Regions from separate parts of the Homo sapiens genome. Here region 2 is linked to region 1. Evidence: promoter capture Hi-C in human tissues and cell types (Jung and others, 2019). All regions are on one chromosome and are shown on one strand. Each heading gives the region's core, a stretch centred on a gene start or on the middle of the fragment in contact. The rest is flanking DNA. Distances are from core to core; before and after follow the strand shown.

Region 1 (6,718 bases), core at 1,722-4,221:
GATGTTTTAATGAAATGTTCAAACCTGTGAATGTTCTCTGAAATATATCAGTATACTGATTTATCATTTTAATTATAGATCAGCATGTAGCAAATTCATAACCTATACCTTTCTTATTATGAGGATTTTCTAGACTGATATATACCTTTAAGACATGAATCATTCTTCCAGAGTTGGGGAAACTGATGGGAAAATGGCTAAATGATTCAGCATGCTGCAGCAAAGTGATCTGGTCACAAATTTACAATTTCTACTTCTCTTAGGTGCCCTGGCCCTGGTGGCCTCTTTCATCCTGTACTGCATATATAACATATAATGCTGTAATCAATAAATTTAGTTAAACATTCCCTTGGGAAAGGCATAATGGTACTTTCCCCTCCGATGAGCTTCTAGAAACAAAATTATTCAATTCTATGAGACAACAGGTTCACAAGGCTGGACAACTCTTACAATGTCCAGTTGTAAGCTTCATCAAGCTTCGCTTATGCAGATAATAGGGCTAGAGTGAATTCTGACACTGGTGCCATTTTCTTAGCTGCACAAAGGAAATAGCAGGAAAAAGACCCAAGACCAAAAAAACCCAGAAGATGGGCAAAGGAAGCCAGCTGAGGAAATGGCTGTGGCCATACCTGTGTCTCTCATGCCAACATTCACCTTTACCAAAAACATCACAATAGAACAGAAGATCCTAAGCAGGTCAAGAGAACTAAATAGCAACTGCTGAACATACACTCATATAGCCTGACTTATGAGAAACCTCACCACCCAAAGCAGGTGAAAGCCTTTTTCTTTTCTAAGTGCCTCTGTTTATCCTTCGGTGACAAAAGATTTACTGTTAATTAAGGTATTTCAGAAATATATAGATTCCAGAGTAGAATAAAGCCTTTTCCATCAAATAACCAGTTACAAAAATAATATTAAGAATTAAACGGTTTCATCTAAAATTGCACCATCTCAGATGCTGGGGAAGTACATCCATTTTGTGACCATAGCATAGTCATCTCACCCAGCATTTTCTGAGAATGGGACAAAGTGTGCCAGGATGTGTAAAATGAAATTGCCATAGCTATGAAGTCCAATTTCCTCATTCAGTACCTTGAATTTATTTCAGTTTGGTATGGTAACATACCTCACACACACACACACACACCCATACTCACAAAAACAATCCTCAGGAGCAACACTTAAAAAGATTATACTACCTTAGAACTATCTGAAATGTATTTAGGAAAGAACTAGGGTGACAAGTTTGACCTTCCATAAATTCATCTTTTTTTTTTTTGACTGTGCAACCTCTAATTTCCTCTAATTTGGAGAAGGGAGGGTGGGTGGAGAAAGAAAAAAAGGTGAAAAACATCTAATTCAGTGTGTACAATCTCTCTCTTGTGTGTGTGTATATACATATGCGTGTGTGTGTGTGTGTGTGTGTGTATTTTTCCCCCTCCACCAAGACCTTGGAGGTCAATAAGAGGAAAAAATGGCTCACAAGACAAGGTTTCATGGCTAACCCAAGGGAACACCTTCACAGCTGAAGAATTTCAGCTCAGGGGCAACCTGGCTGGGAGTATCAGAGGCCACAGCATTATGGACCAAGAGCGCAGGCCGCACCACCAGCATCCCAGGCGCCTCTGCCGTGCGCATGTCCCTCTTATATAAAGAGATGCTTACAGTCCAGGTGCTTTTTCTTGGGGCCCATTACTTCATGAGTAGTGGCTTTGCAGACCGCTCTTGCTACAGCAGAGCCTGTAACGCTGTACTGAGCGGCGGCGATCCGATCCGTGAGCGTTTGGCCCGACATCTTCTGTGGTCGCGTCTACCGCCTCCTCTTCTGCAGGAAACAAGGGGAGACGGTCCGGCTTTAATCCGCAGACCCTACCCTCCAAGCACCCAGGCCTTGCCTCCTCCAGCCGCGCGGCGGCTCTCTCCTCCTCCATCCCCACCCTGGCACCACCTCTCGGAGCCAGCAACGCGCCAAGCCCCGCTCCTGCGATGCGGTCCAGGGAGTCTTGGCCGTGAGTAGGGCCGTCACGGAACCCCAGCGTGGGCTCCAGTCGCAGCATCGTGACACCGTCCCCATTCTCCCCCGGCCCCCACATAGGGCCAGACTCACCCCCTGGGGACCCCCCTGTCAATCAGCACTTTCCCCGCAACCTGACCCGCGGGTGCTGGACTAGCCACAACGTGCGTTGGGGTTATTCCCTGGGCGCCGCACCCACCGGTGCCCATCTCCCACCTCAGCAGACTTTCCTCCTAGCAGCCCGCAGGCTTCGGGGAATGCATCGGATACCCAAGCCCTGGCTGCCTCCCTCCTCCTCCTCGCGCTGCTGCAGCAAAGGGCTCGTCCTCCCTCAGTCGCGAAGGAGATTATCCTAGCGTTGCGCCATGTTATGCCCTCGCCTCCCCTTCCTTCCTCGCCGCCGGCTCCAAAGCCTCGCCGAGGCCCATCGCCCGGGCCCCTTCCCCCCGGTTCCAAATCCCTGCCGCAGGGGCCGCCCGGGAGCTCTGCGGAGGCGCCGGAGTCTTGGGGCGCCTCACCCTTCCTGGCTTTGGAGAGGAGCCGGGCTGACAGCGAAGCCCAGTCCCCCGCCCGCCCTGGAGCGCTCCGCGGAGCTGTCACTCGGCCGCTGCCCTTCTCCGCACCCTGGGATTATCCTCTGCGGATCCCCGCGAGACCCTGGCGCGGGGAGGGGGCCGAGTACGGCCGCGGGTACTCACCCCGCCCCTGAGCGGCGCCGCCCGCCGCAGGATGAGCGGAGCCCGGGCCGCCGAGGGAAGCCGCGCCGGTGGATGTGTGCGACCGCGCGTAGCCCCGGTGCCCCCGGGCGCAAAGTCTCCAGCCCTGGCCGGGCCCCGCTCCTCAGCTCCGCGGTCCCGGCGCCCACCGCCCCTGGCCCCTGGCCCCAGAAGCCAGTACCCGCCCGCCGCCGCCTCTTCTGCCAGCGCCGCCGCGTCTCTCTAGCGCTCCGAGCTGCGTCCCCATCCCCGCCCCCACCTCAGCTGTGGCTCCTCCGACGAGTCAGGTGACGGCGGCGGACAAACCCGGACGAGCCCTCGGCGGAGCGCCTCGCGGCCCCCTCCCAGCTACTCACACACACCGCCCCCCGGGGCCGGGAGCTTAAAGGCGAGGGGGCGCCTCGCGCAAGCATCCCCGGCAAGCCGGCGGGGAGAAGAAGGAGGCGGGGAGGCCGACACCCACCCAGCCAGCGGCTCTCCGCTGGGCGCCGGGCCGCCCCTCCGCTGCTGGCGCCGCACCCGGCACGCACTGGGCTCGCGCACCACGCACACCTGCCCGCCGACTGCGGGGGGAGCCCTGGGCGTTGGGGGCGTTGGCCAAGACGGGCGAGTGGGCTTCTCGGGTTCTACTCTGTGAAGGCCAAGGCAAGGGCGTCGTCGCGCGCTGCCTGGCGGAGCCCAGCCCCTTCCCCACACTGTCGCTGACACGCCCGCCTGTCAAAGGCTCCGAGGCCCAGATGAGCAGGGCGATTTTAAATGTCAGATCCTGCCGGCCATCCGCGACCGTCACCTGTGCGTCTTCAGCTCCTCAGGCTCCTCCGCTTGTCTCAGTTACAACTGGGAGCCCGGGTGGGCAGGTAATTCTAGCCACTTTAGTCTTAAACGGATACTGAGGTCTGCTGAAGGGAGAATAATTAACACAGCCGTTAATCGAGTCCCAGATTACCTTCGACAGTAATCATTTGCGTGCATAAAGAAAACCCTTTGTACCCTTAAGAAGTAATTTCTGCCAATTAAATATAGTGTTGGAACGTCCGTCAATTGTATGTCAAGTGTATATTCGAATAGTAAGCAGGAATTTCTAAACAGGGATGTGGAGTTGGTTAATAGCTTCACGTGTTGACATTTTCAAAGGTTGTTATTTATGTTCACCTTTTTTTTTAATTCTCACAGTAGCATGAAGATCAAAACTATATTTGTGAGCTTTCCTGGCATTTTTTCTCCTTGCTTCGGGTGGCTTCTGCTCGGCCTTGAAGCCATATATCGATACCTATCGATCTCAACGTTTTGTTATATATTCCTCTCTTTCACCTGGTACAGTGTTCAGTATGCAGTCATGATTTCCTAACTACTGAGACTGATTCTAGGACTAATTGGAAGCTTAATGACTAAAGAGAGACAGCTTAAGAGCACTATTGTCTCAAGTACTAGTCTTACCATATTTACAAGGGAAATAAAAACGCAATTCTATTAAAAAAACTTGTACTCCAGTTTTATAGCAGCTTAATATAATGGCCCCAAACTGGAGGAAAGCCAAATGTTATTCTACTAGTAAATGAATAAACAAAATATGGTATATCCACATAATGGAATACTACTTAGCAATAACAAGAAACAAACTAATACCATTCATGAATCTCAAATTCATTAGACGAAGGGAAAGAAGCTCTATCAAAAATTCTACTTATTATTTTGATTTCATTTATGTAACATTCTGGAAAAGTCAAAACTATAGAAACAGAAAACACATCAGGTGCCGAGTCAGGTGACGGTGGCATTGGGGGAGGGGACTGCAAAGGGGCAGAAGGAAACTTTTTGGAGAGATGGAAATGTTTTATATCGTGACGGTGATGATGATTATACAGCTGCATGTATTTCTCAAAACTCATCAATTTGTACACTTAAAATTGGCGAATTTTGTTGTTTGTTAATTATACCTCAATATAATCTGATAGAGTTGGGAGTGGCAATATTAATATCAAAGTAGGTTTTACAATAAGGAATATTAATAGCAATAAACAGGCACATTTCATAATGAAAAATTCATTAAGAGCATGGAACAATTCTACTTGTTTGTATATCTAAGAACAGAGCTTCAAAGTAGGACGAAGCAAAACCTAATAGCATTAAAAGGAGAAACAGGCAAATCCACAATTATACTTCAGGATTTCAGCACTTTTCTCTATGTAATAAATAGGACAAGTAGACAGGAAACCTGTAAGGGTATAGATGACTTGAAATAGCCCTGTAGGCCGGACGCGGTTGGCTCATGCTTGTAATCCCAGCACTTTGGGAGGCCGAGCCAGGCAGATCATGAGGTTAGGAGATCAAGACCATCCTGGCTAACACGGTGAAACCCCGTCTCTACTAAAAATACAAAAAAAAAAAAAAATTAGCTGGGCGTGGTGGTGGGTGCCTGTAGCCCCAGCTACTCAGGAGGCTGAGGCAGGAGAATGGCGTGAACCCGGGAGGCGGAGCTTGCAGTGAGCGGACATCGCGCCACTGCACTTCAGCTGGGGTGACAGAGCAAGACTCTGTCTCACAAAAAAAAAAAAAAAGAAAGAAATAGTCCTGCAGACCAACTTCACCTAATTGACATTTATAAAATAGTCCACCCAACAGTAGTGGAATACTTTCTTAAAGTGTGCATGGAATATTCTCCAGGATTGACCATACTGACTGATCCTAAGCCATGAAGCTAGTCTCAATAAATTTAAAAGGATTATAATCATACACATTATGTTCTCTTACCACAGTGGAATTTAACTAAAAATCGGTGACAGATAGATATATGGAAATCTCTAAATATTTGGTAATTAAACAACACATTCCAAATAACCCATAGGTCTAATTTTCTCATAAGAAAATTGGAAATTTATTTGAACTAAATAATAATGAAAATCCAACATATCAAAATTTGTGGGTTGCAGGCAAAGTGGTGATTAGAGGCAAATTTATAGCATTAAAATGCTTAGGAATGAAGAAAGATCTAAAAATATTTATTTGAGTTTGAACCTTAAGACACTAGAAAAAGAATAAATTGAATTCAACATGAGCAGAAAGAAGGAAGTAATAAAGAGTACAAATCAATGAAAGAGAAAATGACAAATAATAGATAAAATCAATTAAACCAAAAGCCATTTTTTGGAAAAGATCACAAAATGGATAACCCCACTAGCCAGATTGAGCAAGGAAAAAATAAGATGGCAAAAATTTCCAATTTTAGGAGTGAAAGGAGAAATCAATTCTATGGACATTAAAAAATTAGAGAATGTTATAAACAACATTGTGCAATAAGTTGGACAATTTACATAAAATGAGGAAGTAGTATAAAATAATGGTTCTCCAACAGTCCAATAATGATGTAATGTCACATATGTTGCTATTAGTTAAGAGGTTTTGAGCAAATAACATGTTTCCAATAATAATTAAAATAATGCAATCTGTGAATGATTTATTTTTCAAAATAGATTGGAATGGATTCAAAGTCAATCCTATAATAGTGTGCAGTTACATACAATACACTGGGAAGTATTTGAAGCCAGAGCTTATTCTTGGTATGCTACCCATGTCTCTGGTACTATACATGGGAGAATATCCCACACATAAACATCCTGACATAGTGTTAGCAGAATGTTTGAAAATCCCTCAACTATAGAAGTATCATATTCTTATAATAAATAATCAATAAATAATGTCAAGGATGGAACCAATATATGAAATGTGGGTTGTTTTGGAAGATCTTAATGAGCGTTGAAAATAGTAGCATATTTTCAGTAGCAAAGATTTGGAGATGCTGGCTTCTTACAGCCAGGAAAATCTAGAGTTACATCCATGAATGTTATATACTAAAGTGAAAGAAAGAAAATAGACTAAAAGAAAGAAATATATTGAGATAAAAAATTACTTGTTGACATGTTCTCTTTGAAGGCACAGGAACGTAATAAATGATATTCAATAAATCTTAGGCAAGAATAAGAATTGA
Region 2 (6,718 bases), core at 2,848-5,347, 51 kb before region 1:
CTCATTCTACTCCTTGGGGACCCAAAATGTCACTATATGTTTTAGCTATCTGAGTGGAGGCTTTATGGGGATTAAGTTACAAAAGGAAATTAGATCCAGTGAATGCACAAGACTATCTGTGGTTATATCCTCAGTTTTCTGAATGCATAGTTTGAGTAGATATACTTCAAAACTAGCAGAATCCACACTGTTTTTCTGACTTCTGCAAAGATACGGGGGTAGAAATTCCATCACATTCTCAGTATACTCGCATATTTGTTTTATGAAAAGATGTATGTATTTGAGAGGTTAACAGTAGATTATAAACTTAATCAGATGATAACTGCTAATGTGCAGGTTTCCAGATATATCCTCATTTACCAGAAGAAAATCAATGTAGCTCCTGGTACCTCATAGGCAGCTACAGAACTAGGTAATGATTTATCTCTACCTCAATAAACAGAAACCATCAGAAGTAGTTTTCTGTCATCTAGCAGAGATGCCATTAAAGCCTCACTGTCTTATTTCAGGGATATCAACCTCTTTGGCTGTCATACTCCCATAGGATATCATTTTGATGACATAAGGCTGAATGTATTTAGTGGGCAAGAACTGACGGTATCTTAGCTGCCTTGATAAGTCACATGCATGTCAAAGTATGGGAGAATCCATGAAAATTCAGAGACCAGTCACCTCAATGAAGTTTCTAAGGGCCCCAAAGACTGTGCATTTCAGAGAAATCCTTGCCGTGTAAAAGAGAAATTTTGTACCTTGCACTCTTTGTAACTAAAAAGAGGCAGAAGTCTGCTAAGCTGCTTTGGTGGCAACATAGAGGACATGTGTATGTGCTGCTCTAAGCAAAGCATCTGGTATAGTGTCACATATGAGTCAGGCTCAGATTAAGGGAAGACTCTGCAACTTCTCCAAACTGATGCCACGTGGGGCTCTGTTTCAGCAGATCTAAAGGTACTTAAAGTGTGTACAGCAGATTCAAATGCTGTAGAGTACCTCTGGTACACTCCAATACAGGCCTCCAGTGCTTTGGAGTAGGGCTATGTCTTCTTCACACATTAGCTAATCTCCTTTGGAAAAAATGCTCTTGGTTTACTTTTACCTCAGTTTACCTTGGTTTATTTTTACCTACCTTTTACTTTTAGAGACTTAAATTTTGACCAAAGAACATCAAGTGATCATCAGACCTAAAGTGGGTGTTATCTAATGTACCAAATAATAAAGTTGAACAAGTGCAATCATACTCCATTATCAAAAGAAGCAGTCTATAAGAGATAAGCCTCAAGCAGGTTGTGAATAAGCAGGTAGATTGTATGAACAGATGGTTCATATTCCCAGTGCATCTACTCTTTTTCTTTCCCATTTCTCCCTCAAATTATACCCATGGACTCTGGGGGAGTTCCCTATCACCAGCTGACTGAGGAAGAAAACATTCAAATTTGGTTTAGAGATGGTTCCTCATGTTGGCACCACCTGGAAGTGAAAAGCTGAATAATATCCCCACAAAGGGATGGCCTTGACAAAGAAAGAAATCTTCACAGTGAGTCAAATTTCCAGTAATATATCTATCTAATTTTCCACTTTATGGTAAAGGAAAAATGGTAAGAAACATTGAACTACACCAAATTATGTGTAGCAACTAACTGTTGGCCTGGATGATAAGGTACTTGAAAAAAATAAAACTGGAGGATTGGTGACAAGGAGTTCTGGAGAAAAGGTGATGGATGGACCTCTCATAATGGATAGAGAGCATGAGACTATATTCATCCCATTTGAATAAAAACCAAAGGGCATATCCCACAAAAAGGCTCTTTCTAATCAGAGGGCGGCTAAGAGAACTCTATAGGAAGTGGGTATATATCAGAAATGGAGGTTATGAATAGGCTAAACAGCATAGGCTTCCCATCGCCAAGGCTTATATGCCTATCATCACTGCTGAGTCCTCAGTTGGCCAACACCCTGGATCAACACTGAGCTTTCATCATAACACGATAGGCCAGGGACACCAGCCATCCACCAAGTAACAGGTTGAGGATTAATTCCTTTTACTAGGGGTGGTTAGCAGCAATCTGTCTACACTATGATTAGCACCCAGTTACCCTAGATATGGATTTACCATCTCTGCCCATATCGTTCTGCCAGTACCACCATCTGTGGACTTACTCACTATCATGATATTCCACACAATATTGCCCACCAAGTGAGACAACAGACTCACCCCACAGAATTCATCAATCTTACTGTGTATCCCATCAGCCCAGACATGTTTCGGTTGTTCCACCTACCGAGTAAGTTAATAACACCATCATTGTAGCAAGCAAAAAGTTTGATAAGATCTTTGAAAAGAAGCATAAATGCTGCATTTATGACACCATTTGTTAGTTCATTTGGATGCACCTAGAAAAACAGAAAAATTTAATATTAGCGGCATATCATTAAGTCTTAATTTTTCTTGAATCACATTAAAATGTCTCAAATGACTACTAAGAAATTCATGAATATTCTACAAACATTGGTAATTCATTTAGTAACCCTACCAATATCAAAAGATGGACTACATATGTTTTTGCTTCAATTTAAGTCAATGAGGTTAGTCTTATCGATTAAAAGACAGATATATGCATTATATATATATGTGTTTATATAGATTAATCCATAGATTATTCAAATTTAACTTTTGAAAATCTGGTGTTTTGTTACTTTTACTGTTATGTTACATTTCTTCCACTTCTCCTATCTAATAGTTTCTGTGAAAGGATTCAGGCTCCAGGGGCCTGCAATGACTCAGTGTGGAAGAACAGCATGGGGAATACCTTAGTCAGCTACCTCTAAAATAACTCTAGAGACTCATAACTGTTCACCTATTCCAAACTACTCTAATCATCAACACAAAGGCACATAATTTCTCCCCACTCCTCAATCCTTTTCTTTTTCCCTTTATGACTTTCTCTTTTAAGACAGAACCCTTACTAAGGTCAAGGAAAGTAAAGAAAAATAAACGAATTAAAAAGAAAATAAAAGCTAAAAGGCAATTCGACAGATACTTAGTGAAGTCCTTATCATAAAATCTGTTAAAAAATAAGATGGTTTGCTGCTTTTATGAAATTTCACAGGAGTTAGGTGTTGTGATTAGCACCTAATTATAGACTAAACCATACAATCTTAACAGAGATGCTAAGTTACTAAAATTTGAGGAAAATCTTTGTTGTAGGCAACTACCAAAATACAAAAAGGCTGAACAATATGAGTTAATAATGTCTCTACATGTCAAAATATTTTACTTTCATGAATCAGATTTCAGATTTTTTTTTTTTTTGAGACAGAGTCTCACTCTGTCGTCTAGACTGGAGTGCAGTGGCATGATCTCAGCTCACTGCTACCTCTGCCTCCCAGGTTCAAGCGATCCTCCCACCTCAGCCTCCCAAGTAGCTAGGATTACAGGCATGCACCACCACACCTTGCTTTTTTTTTTTTTTTTTTTTGGTATTTTTAGTAGAGACAGAGTTTCACCATGTTGGCCATGCTGGTCTCAAACTCCTGACCTTGTCAAGTGATCTGCCTGCTTTGGCCTCCCAAAGTTTGGGATTACAGGCGTGAGCCATGCCCAGCCTCAAGATTCTTCAAAATTAATTTTTTTATTTTAAGATAACTCTAAATTTACATGCAGGTGTAAGAAGGAATACAGAAAGCTCCCATATACCATTTACCCAGTTTATCCTAATGGTAACATCCTATAAAACTATAGTACAATATCACAACCAGGATATTGACAATGAAACAATTCACTAATTTATCTAAGATTAAACACAATTCTTTGGTGGATAGTGTCATTTAAGCAATCTGCATAAAATGGTTTCTAGGCCAGGCGTGGTGGCTCATGCCTGTAATCCCAGAATTTTGGGAGGCCGAGGTAGGCAGATCATGAGGTAAGGAGATCGAGACCATCCTGGCTAGCATGGTGAGATGCCATCTCTACTGAAAATGCAGAAAATTGGCCGGGCATGGTGGCGGGCGCCTGCAGTCCCAGCTGCTCAGGAGGCTGAGGTAGGAGAATGGCGTGAACCCAGGAGGCAGAGCTTGTGAGCGGAGATCGCGCCACTGCACTCCAGCCTGGGTGACAGAGTGAGACTCCGTCTCAAAAAAATAAATAAATAAAACAAAATAAAATAAAATAAAAAATAAAAAAGATTTCTAACAGCAGGTCAAGTTATTTAACTGCCTGAAGGCACATCTTGCAGATACTTCATCCTGTCAAGTACAATAGGAAGTCACTATCCTGCTCAGAACATGAAGTTCCAAGAATGTACCATTCATATTTTTCCATGACTTATGTAAACACCTGGTAAACTGCTTAGAAAAATCAGGGGAACCTAAATAATCTTTACCGAGCTTAACAGCCTGAACTAAGTATTCATCTAAATGAAGATCTATAGCTGCTTCCCGAGGAAATCTTTGGATTTACCTGTAGCCCATCTTCAAATGAAAGACAACATTGATTGTGTATGAAACATTTTCTAGTGAGATACATACATCAAATTCAAGCAGTGCATCAATTTGTCCCTGTAGTATTGGCATACTCTTTAGCAGCTTTTCGGGAGCCATTGTCCTCATTACACCATCGGCCCTACAATTAAAAAAAAAAAAAAGGTACAATTTCATTGGATATGGACAATTCAAGACCATATGAATTGTTCTAAGCTGTTCCCCCACACCACCCCATTTCCTTATTAATCCTGTGGGATCAATTTGAGGTATTACAAGGTTGTAGTCATTTCCCCCCTCTATCTATTATCTATTCTTATTCCTCCATTGCACAGGCAATGCTTGTTTGTTTTCTATGTGTACTGCCCTTAGGAAGAAAGCAATCGGGTCTGGATAAAAGAGGCAAGCTGAATTTATGAATGGATTTTTCTAAATCTATAATAAAGGTAATAGTGTTGAAAAGTATGTTTTCTTCTTTTTTTTTTTTTTTTTTTGAGACAGTCTCACTCTGTCACCCAAACTGGAGTGCAATGGCATGATCATAGCTCACTGTAATCTCAAACTCCTGGGCACAAGTGATTCTCCTGCCTCAGCCTCATGAGTAGCTGGAACTACAGGTGCATGCCACCACACCCGGTTAATTTTTAAAAAATTTGTTTTGGTAGGGATGGGAGTCTCACTATGTTGCCCAGGCTGGTCTTAAACTCCTGACCTCACAGAGTCCTCCCTCCATGATCTACCAAAGTGCTGAGACTATAGCCATGAGCCACTTTGCCCAATCAAAATATAAGCTTTCAAAAAAGCCAGTTTTTTTTTCTTTTTTTTTGAGAAAGAGAAAACATGTCTTGGAAGTTTATAAAACCTGTATGACTTGGAGTACAAGGTTTATGCTATTAACCATCAAGGGAAGAAAAATGCATGCTGATAAGAACACTTTTCCCAAACAAAGGTAAGAGTTTAGCTACAGAAGATGAGACTGAAGGTTAATGCTGATGTCGGAGGGTGCACTGCACCTTGTCTCCACCTTCAGGTCTCTTAGGAAGCCCTTGTATCCAGTGATGGTGATGGTTGAGGAGCAGCAGTATTGTAATAGCTGAAGAAAATACCCAGATGATGTGGACATGCTGATCATGGCAACTTTCAGGGTCTCTCCCAGACCAACAGTGGAGAAAGCAACCTGAAGTGTCCATATGTGTTCATACAGGGGTGCAGAAGTTTCTAGGAAGGCCATGGACCTACTGCAGAGGTCACAATGCAGCTGGGAACATCAGCAATGGTTGCATGGTGCCATGTAAGAAGTTAGAGGAAGGCATATGAACTAGAATCATCTCTCGTGAGAAGAGGGTGAAGGAAAACACCTACTTTTATAAAGTATTCATCTACAATAAATTATTTTGAATAGGCAAGTTGATGTTTTTCACCACCATGGTAAAAAAAGTAGCCCCAAACTAAGGTCAGGTTAGCCATTGCAAAAATAAAGTTACATCTTTTTGTGTGGATTCTTGAGACTAAAATATTAAAGCTGCTATAGTACCTTGCCATTATTTCAAATGAGGAACAGATATAAGATATGCACAAATGTGTGGCTGAATGCCTCTGACTAGATTTATGCATCTATTTAGAGGGAAATAAATGGTAATTATAGATAAAATTCAAGTGTTTCTGTTTCAATGAGGTTTTCTTAATTGGTAGTATTAACAATTAGTTTGATTATGGTGTGTGTTTATATATGTGTTTTCTAGAATGATACGTCTCTCAAAACCAGATCAAAGTTCAGATTCACCTCAATTAAAAAAAAAATATTTATATAGCTATTGGCTATTTTCCATCTTTTTTTTTTTTGACACAGGGTCTTAGAGACAGGGTTGCCCAGGCTGGAGTGCAGGGGCATGAACATAGCTCACTGTAGCCTCAGTCTCCTAGGATCAAGCAATCCTCCTGCCTTAGCCTCCCAAGCAGCTGGGACTACAGGCACACACCACCACGCCTGACTAATTTGTTTAATTTTTAGTAGAGAGAAAGTCTCACTGCATTGCCCAGGCTGGTCTTTAACTCCTACGTTGCCCAGGCTGTTCTTTAACTCCTGAGCTCAAATGATCCTCCCAGTTTGGCCTCCCAAAGTACTGGGATTACAGGTATCACTGTGCCAGGCCAAATAGCTATTGTCATCTACAGCCACTATACTTTTAAGTGAATCTTGTCTTAATTCCCTCCTTCTTAAATTATTTAAAGGTATATACATGTT

What was found. Contacts are between HindIII fragments. The study calls those that stand out against the background at their distance.
Region 2: a fragment that was not itself captured here is called in contact with the fragment with the promoter of SNAP91 in region 1 in 1 of the 25 tissues and cell types used here (adrenal gland).

Annotation. Positions count from the first base shown.
Region 1 is chr6:83,706,130-83,712,847 of GRCh38, forward strand. It overlaps SNAP91 (synaptosome associated protein 91), which reads right to left and starts at 2,972. Exons shown (of 30, transcript NM_001242792.2): 1 at 2,716-2,972; 2 at 1,669-1,828. The coding sequence starts at 1,798. LOC105377879 (a long non-coding RNA gene) reads left to right here and starts at 3,313. Exons shown (of 3, transcript NR_136251.1): 1 at 3,313-3,590. RefSeq lists silencers at 1,941-2,235, 2,645-2,854, 3,185-3,244. The HindIII fragment of the contact is 7,193 bases long and covers 1-6,373 here.
Region 2 is chr6:83,654,478-83,661,195 of GRCh38, forward strand. SNAP91 (synaptosome associated protein 91) reads right to left here. Exons shown (of 30, transcript NM_001242792.2): 6 at 4,522-4,615; 7 at 2,277-2,388. Among named protein-coding and RNA genes, the nearest start is that of SNAP91, 51 kb to the right of the region's middle. The HindIII fragment of the contact is 4,020 bases long and covers 2,088-6,107 here.